2 separate regions of the Homo sapiens genome follow, and region 2 is linked to region 1. Evidence: promoter capture Hi-C in 16 types of primary human blood cells and fetal thymus (Javierre and others, 2016). All regions are on one chromosome and are shown on one strand. The core of a region is centred on a gene start or on the middle of the fragment in contact, and the rest is flanking DNA. Distances in the headings are between cores, read along the strand shown.

Region 1 (6,443 bases), core at 2,203-4,702:
TGGGTGTTCAAGACCAGCCTGACCAACACGGAGAAACCCTGTCTCTACGAAAAATACAAAATTAGCCAGGTGTGGTGGTGCATGCCTATAATCCCAGCTACTTGGGAGGCTGAGGCAGGAGATTTGCTTGAACCTGGGAGGTGGAGGTTGCAGTGAGCTGAGATTGCGCCATTGCACTCCAGCCTGGGCAACAAGAGTGAAACTCTGCCTCAAAAAAAAAAAAAAAAGGATAGTCAACCTGTATAACATATCAATCCTCAACAATATCTGCTCCCTTTTTTTTTTGAGACGGAGTCTCACTCTTTCGCTCAGGCTGGAGTGCAGTGGCGTGATCTTGGCTCACTGCAACCTCTGCCTCCCAGGTTCTAGTGAGCAATTCTCCTGCCTCAGCCTCCTGAGTAGCTGGGATTACAGACACATGCCACCACACCCGGCTAATTTTTGTATTTTTAGTAGAGACAGGGTTTCATCATGTTAGCCAGGGTGGACTCGATCTCTTGACCTCGTGATCCGCCCACCTCAGCCTCCCAAAGTGCTGGGATTATAGGCATGAGCCACCACACCTGGCCCAGATATATTACTCTTTAAAAAAAATTTTTTTTTTTGCAATCAGATATGTTACATCACCACTACTGCCTTAGTCAGCTCAGGCTACCGTAATAAAATACCATAGACTGGTGGCTTAACCAACAGAAATTTATATATATTCTCACAGCTATTTCTCACACATAAAAAACTATCTTTTATGTGTTCCCCCGACCCCCACTGGATTGGAATTCCCTAAGGGCATGGATGTTTCTGATTCATCTTTGTATTTCAGGCTTTAGCACAAGGCCTGAGGTGAAATGTGGTTCTGTAACCATTTGATGAAGTGTGATCAGAGCTATTCAAGGGAAGAAAAAAACTGCCTTGAGATGATTAATTCTCTGATACTAGAAATCTCTCAACTGGCTGGTTGAAGGCCCCTTGGGGACATTCCAGTGAGTGTCCAGCTAATTTAACTGTTTTCTGACATATTTTGAGTCTGGTTCTGGTAATGTCTGTAACTCTCTTATCAATGTTAATTTCCATTCCCTATTCCTATCTGTGTGGCTCTGGACATTGGCCAGAGGCAGGTGCTGGGCCTATATGCCTCCTCCCACCTTTCTCCCATGCTCCCTGTGAGGCAGGCATCTAGCTCTCTGATGGATGTGGCTGCCTCCTCATTGAAATGAAGAAGGGGCTCAGAAGAAACAGCACCTCTTGATGGCTGATGCTGTAGGTCTCTGAGCTAATGTGGACTAGAGGACAAATCCTGTTTATTCTGAAGTTTTGAAGAGTCTGAGATGCTTTCCTATTTGCCAATCAGTCAGCCTGAAAAGGTTATCTGCATATGTGTTCTAACAGAACACAGGATCTCTAATTCAGAGACCGACTGTATCTTGCGTCAGTTCCCTAGGCCCAAATTTCCCATTATGTCGGGGAGTGACACAGTGAAAGCCTCCGGGTGAAGAGAGGTTTTACAAGAGAGGAACCCTAATATTATGAAACTCAGAGCTTGTGCAGGATAGGAGGCTGTCCCTCTTCCTTGAGTGGTAAGGGAGACAGACAGAGAGGGAGAGGGAGGGTGTGTGAGTGTGTGTGTGTGTGAGAGAGAGAAAGAATAAGGAAATAAGCAAATGGCTGTGGGTTTTATTACCTTTGAAAGGGAGCAGCTGGCTCTTGGGAAGTGCATAGGAGAGGAAATATTTTGTATCTTCCAAATATCATGCAAATACCTTTTAATCCAGATGCCAATAATCTGCTCAGAAAGCCCTGACTGCACACTCATTGTTTCTCCCATGCAGCCCTAGCCAGGAGTCCTTTCCTGGCTCCTTCTATCCCCGCAGTTCTTTTCTTGAGGAGGACAGATAGGGTTTCTTAGGGAGTTAGGATGAAGAAAGCCTAAGTATGATGAATTCCCCATCCAGCACTGTGCCCAGCACATAGCAGACATCCAATAAAGGTCTGTTAAATGAATGACACGGACCCGTTGTTTAAGATTTTAATAAAGGTGGGGCAAAGGGTTGAATTGGTCGAAAAGTCCTCAACGTCCTGACGGGACTCCCCTGAAGCCAAGGCAGTTTGAGTCCATTCATTATTCTGTCTTGGATCTTAGGCAAAGCCCCGGGCCCCTTGGAGCAGCACCAGGGTTCCCGACACCCCCACCGACAGGGTCGAACGTGCACAGGCTGGGACCACGCCGGAGTTCATTGAGCCCTCGTGGGGGAGGGCAGTTCCAGGGACCAGGAAGGGATTCCCGTCCAGTGTCAGGTTATCCACCTCGGGCAGCTCGTCAGGCTGCGGCGCCCTGTTCAGTCTGTTGCAGCTGAGATCGAGCACTCTGAGCTTGGCTGGCAGTCCTTTAGGCACCTGTTCCAGCCCAGCGAACGACAGATTGAGGGAGTTCAGGGCGCTGGACCACATGCATCTCGGAGCGCTAGGGTTTACGGTGGCGCGCAGCGAGTTGTGGCTGAGGTCTAGGCTGTGGGGCTGCACACCTGCCGCCGCCAGTGCGGCGCACACGCCTGTGGGCGTCTCCATTCCTGTGTTGCGCAGCGCTAGATTCTGGATGGCCGGGAACTTGTGGGGACAGAGAGCCGCCATCAGTCCGCGTTCGCCCAGTCCAGGATTGTCAGACAGGTCTAGGCTGGTAAGGGCCGGGAAGGCGCGAACCTGTTCGCAGGAAAAGGCAGGCGAGTGTGCTTGGGCAATGCTCAGTACCTTGAGGCCTGGCTTGAGCCACTGCTGCAGCTCGGCGAGCCAAGAACGCCCTGTCGCCCACGACACGTTGCGTAGGCGCAAGCTGGAAAGTGCAAGTCCTGTGGCTTCCAGAGGCAGCGGAGGCATGGTGCCGGTTATCTTTAGGTCCTCGAGCGTCAGTTCCTTGAGGCGGGAGTACGCTAGCACACGCAGGGCGCCTACCAGTAGCTGAGCAGGAACCTGTGCGGCTCCCACTGTGAGCCGCCGCACGCGGAGAGCCTTGACCGTGTCAGCATACTGCCGCGGGTCGGCGTCCGCATCGACGCGCTTTAGAAACGGCTCTAGGTTGAGACCGCCGGCATGGATCTCCACCTCTACTGCAGACACACACTGGAAGGCTTCGGACCAGTCGGGCTGAGGTTCGGAGAAGTTGCAGACGCAGCGGAAATCTTCATCGTCCAGCTCACAAGGTTCTGGCGTGGTCGCAGAGACGTGCACCAGCGGCAGCAGCAGCAGCAACAAGCAGGACGCGCGCTCCTGGGGAGAGAGCAGAGGTCTAGGAGGCCCCATCCAACCCCTGTGGCTCCCGAGTGGCACGCGTTCGACCCCAAGACCCTACACTCACCATGGTCGATAAGTCTTCCGAACCTCTGAGCTCCGGACAGGCTCTGGAAGTGCTTTAGCTTCTTTCCTACACAGCGGCACCCGCCGGCTTCCAGGCTTCACACTTGTGAACTCTTCGGCTGCCTCTGACAGTTTATGTAATCCTGGGATGTCATTCAGTTCCCTCCTCTGTGAACCCTGATCACCTCCCCACCTCTCTTCCTCCGAGCCAGCCCCCTTCCTTTCCTGGAAATATTGCAATGAAGGATGTTTCAGGGAGGGGGACCGTAACAGGAAGGATTCTGCAGGGCATCTAGGGTTCTGTGTCTCCTGGCAGTGTCCTGATGACTCAGGCGCCCCAGGCGGTGAATGCCCTGTTGACTCGGGAGCCTAAGCCTTCTCTGGTGGGTGTGGGAAAAGGATGATCCTCAGTGCCTTAGGCCAGTACCATACTCTGCACTATCCAACCCCCCAATCCCCCTACCTTATATCCCAGAGAATCTACTTGATTCATTTCTTTGACTTCTTCCTTGTCTTGGTTTATGTTGATCTCCTGCCACCAAATCCAAGTCCCTGAATATCCTCAGATATTTAACTGCATGTTTTGTGGAAGAGATTGTGAACCTCATCTGTTGGCACCAAGGGGGGTAGAATTAGGTTCAAGAAAAGGAAGTTGGTCTAAAGAAAAATTCCCCCTTCCTTTTTTTTTCCTTGCTCCTTTGATTAAGTAATAACTTTCTTTCTTTTTTTTTTTTTTTTTTGAGATAGAGTCTTGCTCTGTTGCTCAGGCTGGAGTAGAGTGCCATGATCTCGGCTCACTGCAACCTCCGCCTCCTGGGTTCAAGCAATTCTCTGCCTCAGCCTCCCGAGTAGCTGGGATTACAAGTGCCCACCACCACACCCAGCTAATTTTTGTATTTTTTAGTAGAGACAGGTTTTCATCATCTTGGCCAGGCTGGTCTTGAACTCCTGACCTTGTGATCCACCCGCCTCGGCCTCCCAAAGTGCTGGGATTACAGGCGTGAGCCACTGTGCCTGGCAGTACTAACTTTCTTAAAAGTGGATGTATTTAACAGAGACACATTGGCCAAGTCTCTGGGTCACTTACACTATCCATTTTCTGTCCTGAAATTGTGAAGCAAGGTATTTTGAATCAGTTTTCCCACTTGCACGTTGCTCTCTCCTGCCCTCCCCTCAGTACAATCTCTGTGCCCTAGGAAGGAAGGGATGGGACTATGTTGAATGAGGATTAATTAGTAACTCACCAGTTTCGCAAAAAACAGACAAAAACAGAAAACAAAACAAAATGAAAAAAACAGCAAACAAAACAAAACAAAAAAACAACAAATGTCCCAGAGAATAAGGAGCTACGCATTTACAACAGCCCTCACAGGTCCACATCCCTAGACCTCTGGGGAAAGAACTATATGAAAGTCTTTTTTTTTTTTTTTTTTTTTGAGACTGAGTTTGGCTCTGTTGCCCAGGCTGGAGTGCAGTGGCGTGATCTTGGCTCACTGCAACCTCCGCCTCCCAAGTTCAAGCAATTCTCTTGCCTCAGATTCCTGAGTAGCTGGGATTACAGGAGCCCACCACCATGCCCGGCTAATTTTTGTAGTTTTAGTAGAGACAGAGTTTCACTATGTTGACCAGGCACTCCTGACCTCAGGTGATCCGCCCGCCTTGGCCTCTCAAAGTGCTGGGATTACAGGCGAGAGCCACCACACCCGGCCTGAAAGTCTTTTTTACTTTTATTTATTTATTTGAGACGGAGTTTTGTTCTTGTTGCCCAGGCTGGGCGCGATCTCAGCTCACTGCAATCTCCGCCTCCCAGGTTCCAGCAATTCTCCTGCCTCAGCTTCCCGAGCGGCTGGGATTACAGGCATGTGCCACTACACCCGGCTAATTTTGTATTTTTAGTAGAGATGGGGTTTCTCCATGTTGGTCAGGCTGGTCTCGAACTCCCGACCTCAGGTGATTCACCTGCCTCGGCCTCCCAAAGTGCTGGGATTACAGGCATGAGCCACCGTGCCCGGCAGAAAGTCTTTTTTAAATTCCCACTTCCTCTTTAATTGAGAAAGAAGTAGCTGCAGATTTGTCCCCAATCCAAACAAGAAGGCTCATCACTGCCCCCTGCGGGTCCTGTTGGGCATACCCCAATGCACTGGGCCATGCCCTGGTGCCATGCCAGGCCTCTGTGATATCCCTGAGGACCAAGATATGATTATATCTGACTCAAAGTCAGATAGCCAGTCTTGGAATCCCAGCTTTACGACTGAGGTTATGAGACTTGGGCCTCCCTTCTGTAAAATGGAGATGATAGTATTACCTGTTTGTGAGTAAAGTCTTTGGCACAGAAACACATCTTTTTAGTGTGGTCTTGATGACTAGTCTTCTTTCTCAGAGTCTCTGCTTTCAGAGAACTCAGGCCACTGAAGTCTGACACCTCATCATCTTAGGGGAGGCACTCTGGGTGGGGAGTTCCAAGTTAAGAGGGGCAGTGATGGTTCTGCAAAGATCTCCAACTCACAGCTTGATTCAACAAATGTCTATCATTTGTCTACCGAGTACTAGGGTTGGTAGAAAGCCCTGGGACACAGACATGACAAAGACAAGTCCCTGAAGTGCTCCAGGAGGTGGGTAGAGCAAACATGAACCCAGAACTTCCGTCCATAGTGCAGAGGGCTCTTAAAAGAAGAGAAACCAAAGGCTTGTGTTGTTGGGGGAGAGGGGTGGAGGGGAGGAACATGGTCTGGAGAAAGGAACAGCCAGCCCTGTACAAGACAGGACATGGGGCTGGTTCTTACAGGGTTAACAGTGTTGCTAGACAGGTAGATACAGAAAGGCAATTTGGGCAGCTGTAGCTGTCTGAGCAGACACTGGGCAGAATATAGCTTTTGGCTGGGAACTTTTTTCATCTTCCCCACCTGGAGCACATGTGGGTTTTGTTGTTGTTGTTATTGTTGTTGTTTTAGATGGAGTTTCACTCTTGTTGCCCAGGCTGGAGTGCAATGATGCAATCTTGGCTCATCGCAACCTCCACCTCCTGGGTTCAAGCGAGTCTCCTGCCTCAGTCTCCTGAGTAGCTGGGATTACAAGCACGTGCCACCACACCTGGTTAA
Region 2 (6,910 bases), core at 3,469-5,968, 270 kb before region 1:
GTTCTGTTTGTGTTGTGCTGCAGTGGGGGATGCATTATAAATGCAACCAGCCAGAGGGCCCCTGGCTTCAGAACCTAGGACTGTACTGGTTCTGAGATTCTGTGCAAGCCTCATGGAAATGAAGCTGCCAGGCCAGGAAGGGTTTGAAGCCTCCAGTGCTCCTAGAAATATTCCTTCAGGGGAGCTGGACAGCAACCCTGACCCTGGCACCGGCCCCAGCCCTGATGGCCCCTCAGACACAGAGAGCAAGGAACTGGGAGTACCCAAAGACCCTCTGCTCTTCATTCAGCTGAATGAGCTGCTGGGCTGGCCCCAGGCGCTGGAGTGGAGAGAGACAGGCAGGTAAGTTGGATGCAGGCCAGTTCTGTGGGATCCTTCCCCTTCCCCAGCTGGAGCCTCCTATATGTCCCCCAGCGCTTCTTATGGGGCTGCCCAAAATTAGGATTTTCCCAGCTGTGTTCCCTTATTTCAGGGTCTTACCTTCCATGATGCCCAGCCTCCTCTGCAGTCTAGTTTTGAGATCCCCAAGACCCTAGATGAGGGGTGACTGCCAGGGTGGGGGGGAGACTTCACACCACTGGGCCCAGGATGCCCTCATTGCCTTGCCTTCCCTAGCTCCTCTGCATCTCTGCTCCTGGACATGGGAGAAATGCCCTCAATAACACTGTCTACCCACCTTCATCACAGGTGGGTACTGTTTGAGGAGAAGTTGGAGGTGGCTGCAGGCCGGTGGAGTGCCCCCCACGTGCCCACCCTGGCACTGCCCAGCCTCCAGAAGCTCCGCAGCCTGCTGGCCGAGGGCCTTGTACTGCTGGACTGCCCAGCTCAGAGCCTCCTGGAGCTCGTGGGTAGGCTGGGATCCTTTGCAGGAAGGGCCTGGGTAGCCATGCCTTTTCCCCAGGATTTCCCCTCCAAAGTCTTGAAATCTTCCAGAGCCCATCCCTACCCCTCCTAGGATTGTCTACCCTTGTCACAGGGTGGACATGGAAAAGCAGGGTGGAGGAGCAAGTTCATTGGCCCTGGCATTCTGAGACTCCCAGAAGGGAAAGGTGTCTGGGCAGAGGGAGAAGGGGAAGAGTGTGCGGCAGGGAACTCTCAGGAAGGAGATGACCCCCAATCCATTCTCCAGAGCAGGTGACCAGGGTGGAGTCGCTGAGCCCAGAGCTGAGAGGGCAGTTGCAGGCCTTGCTGCTGCAGAGACCCCAGCATTACAACCAGACCACAGGCACCAGGCCCTGCTGGGGTGAGAGCCCCTCCCTGGGCCCAGGACCAAGACCCTGGTGTGGCAGGGTCTCAGATCTCCCCTGCACCTTCCAGGGCTAGAAGTAGCCCAGGCTTAGTTCAGGCTCCAACCCAGGACTCATGAGCAAGAGGAAACTGGTGGTAATGTTGTGGGGAGAAGATTCAGGGGGCTAGAATCGTAAGAGAGTTCTGTGAAGACATGTACTTGGTAGGCACTAGGCCTACCATTTGATCTTCACAGTATCTCATTTGATCTTCACAACCACCCTGTAAATAGTACCACAATTATCCCCATTTTAGTGGTGAGAAAACTGTGGCTCAGAGTGGAGAAGGGTATACTCTAATTCTTACAGCTTGTCAGTGGCAAAAGTGATTAGGGAATCCTGGTGGATCCACCCCCAAAGCCTGTGGTCTTAATCACTGCATAATCCTGTTTTGTAGGCTCTACTCATCCAAGAAAGGCTTCTGACAATGAGGAAGCCCCCCTGAGGGAACAGGTTTGTGGCCCTTCCTTGGGGTCCCTTTCCAGTGGCTGGGAGAGGGGTTAGAAATTAACAAAAGTCTACTCTCCACTGGATTTCTCATCATTTGAGATCTTATCCTCCCCAAATAACCTTTCATATTCTGTGTCTCCTTGAACCCCCATCCAGTGTCAGAACCCCCTGAGACAGAAGCTACCTCCAGGAGCTGAGGCAGGGACTGTGCTGGCAGGGGAGCTGGGCTTCCTGGCACAGCCACTGGGAGCCTTTGTTCGACTGCGGAACCCTGTGGTACTGGGGTCCCTTACTGAGGTGTCCCTCCCAAGCAGGTGAGGCTACTGAGTGAGTGGGAGTCAGGGATCCCAGAACCTAGAAGGGTCTTTACTGAGGAGGGGAAGGAGGGTCTCAGTCTGATTCTCTGAGGCTGTGGGGAGGATGGTGCTCAGGGGTCTGGGGAGAGAGTAGTGGTCAGGGCTGCATGGTAGGTGTGCAAATGAGTGTGTTTATGGGAGCTGATAGGTCAGAGCTGAGCATCAGAGGCCAGGGCTGCCCTGTGGGAAAGCAGCCTGTGAATCTCTGGGGCCTGGTTCCTTCCTCAGGTTTTTCTGCCTTCTCCTGGGCCCCTGTATGCTGGGAAAGGGCTACCATGAGATGGGACGGGCAGCAGCTGTCCTCCTCAGTGACCCGGTGAGCTGAGCAGGTGTGTGTGTGTGCGCGCGCACGCGTGCATGCCTGTGTGTGTGTGCACACATGCATACATGCATGGGCTCATGTGAGTGTGTGTGTGTGGACTCTGTATGTGTCCCTAAATACAGCAATGAGGCACAGTGAGCACTGAGACTGAAGTTTCCTCGTCTCCTAGTGCAGCCCCATTACTGGATGAGTGCTGGCACACTGTAGGCACTCAATAGATACCCACTGAATGAATGAATTAATGCATGCATAAAGGAATGTGTGAATGACTTGTCTGCCTCTGTGACTTGTGTCTGTCTAGTTTTGAGACTATGAAAATGCATGTAAGAGACCAGGTTTGCACTTACCACCCATTCTGTGCCCCCATTCCCAGCAATTCCAGTGGTCAGTTCGTCGGGCCAGCAACCTTCATGACCTTCTGGCAGCCCTGGATGCATTCCTAGAGGAGGTGACAGTGCTTCCCCCAGGTCGGTGGGACCCAACAGCCCGGATTCCCCCGCCCAAATGTCTGCCATCTCAGCACAAAAGGTACCTGGGAGCCATCATCCCATACAGATTCCTGCCCATATAGGCCCTGGGTCTAATTCCATTGTTGAGGAGGGGTGGTGTCCCAGGAAAGAGATAGGGACCTATCTTTGGATTTGGAGTCAGGCAGACCTAACTCTGAGTTCTGCTGGACTACTCTCTCGCTAAGAGACCTGAACAAAGACCTTCCCTGCCCGAGCCTGGCTTTCACAGGTCGCAATATGACCTGGACCTTCTAGAGGCCCAGGTGTCGCCATGGTTCCCTCGCCGGCAGAGACAAGAGCAGCCGCTAGGGGGCAGGGCGCCACGAGCTCTGGACCGAGTCGCAGACTGGTTGGAGATCCTCAGCCAACCTGGGGTTCCCCTCCTCCTCAGGCTTCCCTCGCAACAGCGGGAGATCAGAGGTCCCGCCGTCCCGCGCCTGACCTCGGCTGAGGACAGGCACCGCCATGGGCCACACGCACACAGCCCGGAGTTGCAGCGGACCGGCAGGTGAGGCGAGCTGGGAGGAAACAAGGGTAGGTGACCTGGGGGAGGGGAGGAGTCACAGGGAAACTGAGGTGTGTGCTCACTGTGGGAGGGGCTCACCCGGTCACAGGGAAAGTAGCGGGGATGCGGGTGTGGAGTGTGAAAACCTGGATCACTGACGACCCTCGGGCGGGAGGCTGTTTGGGGGCCTTATCCAGGACGTGCGCAGGAAGGTCCCGTGGTACCCCAGCGATTTCTTGGACGCCCTGCATCTCCAGTGCTTCTCGGCCGTACTCTACATTTACCTGGCCACTGTCACTAATGCCATCACTTTTGGGGGTCTGCTGGGAGATGCCACTGATGGTGCCCAGGTGGGTAGGGCCCAGGGGGCAGGCACAAGCGTTGGTGTCCCCTAGTCCATCCCTTCCCCTGGGACTATGGGTAAGTTAAGGAGGCTCTCCCAAAGCTTCAAAGGACCCCGAGGACTTCAGGGTCCTGTGCTGAGCCCCTGTTGGCTTCCAGGGAGTGCTGGAAAGTTTCCTGGGCACAGCAGTGGCTGGAGCTGCCTTCTGCCTGATGGCAGGCCAGCCCCTCACCATTCTGAGCAGCACGGGGCCAGTGCTGGTCTTTGAGCGCCTGCTCTTCTCTTTCAGCAGGTAGGAGAGCTCCCCCCATCACCGGACCCTCACTAGTGCCATGGTCAGCCTGCTCCTGGCTGGGTGAATAGGAGAGAGTGGGAGCTATCTGTTTGGGTTGAGGGACACCTGACCTGGGTTTAGTGGGAAGCAGACAGCCCTGCTAAGCCAGCCTTCCTGTCTCTCATCCCCACAGAGATTACAGCCTGGACTACCTGCCCTTCCGCCTATGGGTGGGCATCTGGGTGGCTACCTTTTGCCTGGTGCTGGTGGCCACAGAGGCCAGTGTGCTGGTGCGCTACTTCACCCGCTTCACTGAGGAAGGTTTCTGTGCCCTCATCAGCCTCATCTTCATCTACGATGCTGTGGGCAAAATGCTGAACTTGACCCATACCTATCCTATCCAGAAGCCTGGGTCCTCTGCCTACGGGTGCCTCTGCCAATACCCAGGCCCAGGAGGTGGGTAAGGGAAACAGGGACCTTGGTCAGGTGAAGAAGGATGTAGGGAAGGGGAGGGGCTGCACCCTTACTATCCCCCCTGGTTAAGTTCAGCAAAATGCTGCATACTTACCCAATAACTGGCAGTACTATTTACACTCTGGTTCTGAATCAATTGAGAAATAAGACAACAGAAGGCCTGATATCATCTTCCTTTCTGACAACACTGATAAAGGAACATGGGTTATATCTGTGGGTGAATGGGCTTCCTAATGATGAAGCCAAAATTGAATAGACTTACCCACCAGTCGTGGAAGCACTGGTTTGAGACTATCTTACCCCAGGGGAGTAGAGCTAAATACATACATCAAACAGGCAGCTTATACTCGAGAGAGGGGAGAGAAAGGGGCAGGGCCAGGTATGCCCAGCTTCATTTCCTGAAATCACCAATCAAATATATCACTGCTCTTCTGGGTGAGAGTGGCCGGCCAGGTGGAGAGAGGCTTGGAGTATTACACTTGCATATATCCCTCCACATGGAAGGCAACCCCAGGACTGGGAAGAAGTGGCCTCTCTATATGTTCTCCTATCAGTGCTAGGCATGAACAAGACCAGTTCTAGCCCTGGTGGAAACACACAGATTTGTATACTCCTCTATTCAGCCAACATTTGCTGAGCATCTACTGTGGCCAGGTCCAGTGCTTGGTACCAGGGATGCAGATGGGTAGAGAATTTGAGAGGATGGGGGCATGAGACAATGTCCTTCTCGCACACTTGGTAGTGATAGAGTCAGCAGACAGATGAGTCACAATTAAGAACTCTGGTTCACCTGGACCCATCAGATAAGAATTTTATGGGGCTGGAGGAGGTTCCCAGGGGAGGGAACATACATCTGAATTCTTCTCTGCTTCCCAGGAAATGAGTCTCAATGGATAAGGACAAGGCCAAAAGACAGAGACGACATTGTAAGCATGGTGAGGGACTGCTCCTGGGAGGTTCTAGGAAGGAAAGGGTGGAGACCAAGGCAGTCGGTGGTTTCTAGCTCTTCCTACCCATAGGTTAAGGAAACCTTCATAGGTGAGTAAAGCTTAGCCATTTCCTACAGCTGGGAACTTCCCATCCTGGGCCCCTGGTGTCTCTGTGGGTCCCTCCTCCCTTGAAGTTGGTCCAGGAGAGCAGGACATTTACTCCATTGCCTATAACTCCACTCCTGACCCTCCTGTGTACAGGACTTAGGCCTGATCAATGCATCCTTGCTGCCGCCACCTGAGTGCACCCGGCAGGGAGGCCACCCTCGTGGCCCTGGCTGTCATACAGTCCCAGACATTGCCTTCTTCTCCCTTCTCCTCTTCCTTACTTCTTTCTTCTTTGCTATGGCCCTCAAGTGTGTAAAGACCAGCCGCTTCTTCCCCTCTGTGGTGAGTTTCACCTTTCTTTCTGTGGGAGAGGCCTGACTCTAAGCTTTGGGTCCTATCTGTGATGGGAAGTGGTGTGGAAAAAGAGAGATGGCAGGCCTGGACCTGACTGAGTGTCCACTGTGTGCCAGGTGCGCAAAGGGCTCAGCGACTTCTCCTCAGTCCTGGCCATCCTGCTCGGCTGTGGCCTTGATGCTTTCCTGGGCCTAGCCACACCAAAGCTCATGGTACCCAGAGAGTTCAAGGTGAGAGCCAGGGAAGAGGGTTGGGGGACCAGAGGGGAAAGCAGGGCCAGCAGACCATGGGGAAGGAAAATGAATAAATCCCACACTTCTCTAAGCTTCTTTCTTCACTAATAAGCTAGAGATAGTAATAATAATGGCCTCACAGGGTTGTCATGAGGATTAAATGAAGTACTGCAGCAGACACGTGAGTACAGAGAATACACGGTAGCTATTATTACAGGGTATGGGTTAAGAGAATGGGTTCTGATCAGCCAGCCCTGGGTTTGAGTTCCAGTTCTTCCACTTCCCAGCTATGCATTAGGCAAGTTAATGCACATTTCTAAGCCTCAATTTCTTCGTCTATAAAATGGAAATAATAAAATGACAATAGTTCCTACCCCGTAGATTGTTTTGAGGTTTACAGAAGATCACAGTGGAAAGCACTTACCACATGCCTGGCACATACCAAGTCCTCAATAAATGTTAGCTATTATTGTTACGGGATTGCCCCACCCTTGGCGTGGCCCTGCCCACTCCACTACTCCTCACTCTCTTCTTCCCACCCCACGTTGCCTACCCTGATCCAGGAAAGCTGGAACTCCCTTTCCAGGGCATGACAGTGTGCAGGACAAGGCTTAGCACTGATTTCTAGACTTTGCCTTTGCATTTGGAGACCTCCTCTCCAAATTCCCCCAAGACAGGAGAGCAGGGAGGAATCCAGCTGGGGCAGCAACTGGGGCCCCCTCCCCAACACATATGCTTGTAATCAGCGTGGACACAGACACACCCAG

What was found. Contacts are between HindIII fragments. The CHiCAGO score rates a contact against its expected background, and 5 or more counts as called.
Region 2: a fragment that was not itself captured here is called in contact with the fragment with the promoter of CD14 in region 1 in 1 of 17 cell types (endothelial precursors); the score reaches 5.7 in endothelial precursors.

Annotation. Positions count from the first base shown.
Region 1 is chr5:140,629,723-140,636,165 of GRCh38, forward strand. It overlaps CD14 (CD14 molecule), which reads right to left and starts at 3,453. Exons shown (of 2, transcript NM_000591.4): 1 at 3,347-3,453; 2 at 2,010-3,258. The coding sequence starts at 3,349. The coding sequence ends at 2,134. It also overlaps a transcript of TMCO6 not described here. RefSeq lists enhancers at 2,096-2,597, 2,326-2,385, 2,598-3,097. The HindIII fragment of the contact is 16,691 bases long and covers 1-6,443 here.
Region 2 is chr5:140,360,125-140,367,034 of GRCh38, forward strand. SLC4A9 (solute carrier family 4 member 9) reads left to right here and starts at 70. Exons shown (of 22, transcript NM_031467.3): 1 at 70-342; 2 at 688-848; 3 at 1,130-1,243; 4 at 1,684-1,739; 5 at 1,893-2,050; 6 at 2,321-2,408; 7 at 2,788-2,942; 8 at 3,315-3,431; 9 at 3,604-3,778; 10 at 3,930-4,063; 11 at 4,239-4,501; 12 at 5,396-5,454; 13 at 5,710-5,898; 14 at 6,027-6,140. The coding sequence starts at 113. RefSeq lists enhancers at 2,931-3,080, 2,951-3,496. The HindIII fragment of the contact is 1,694 bases long and covers 3,872-5,565 here.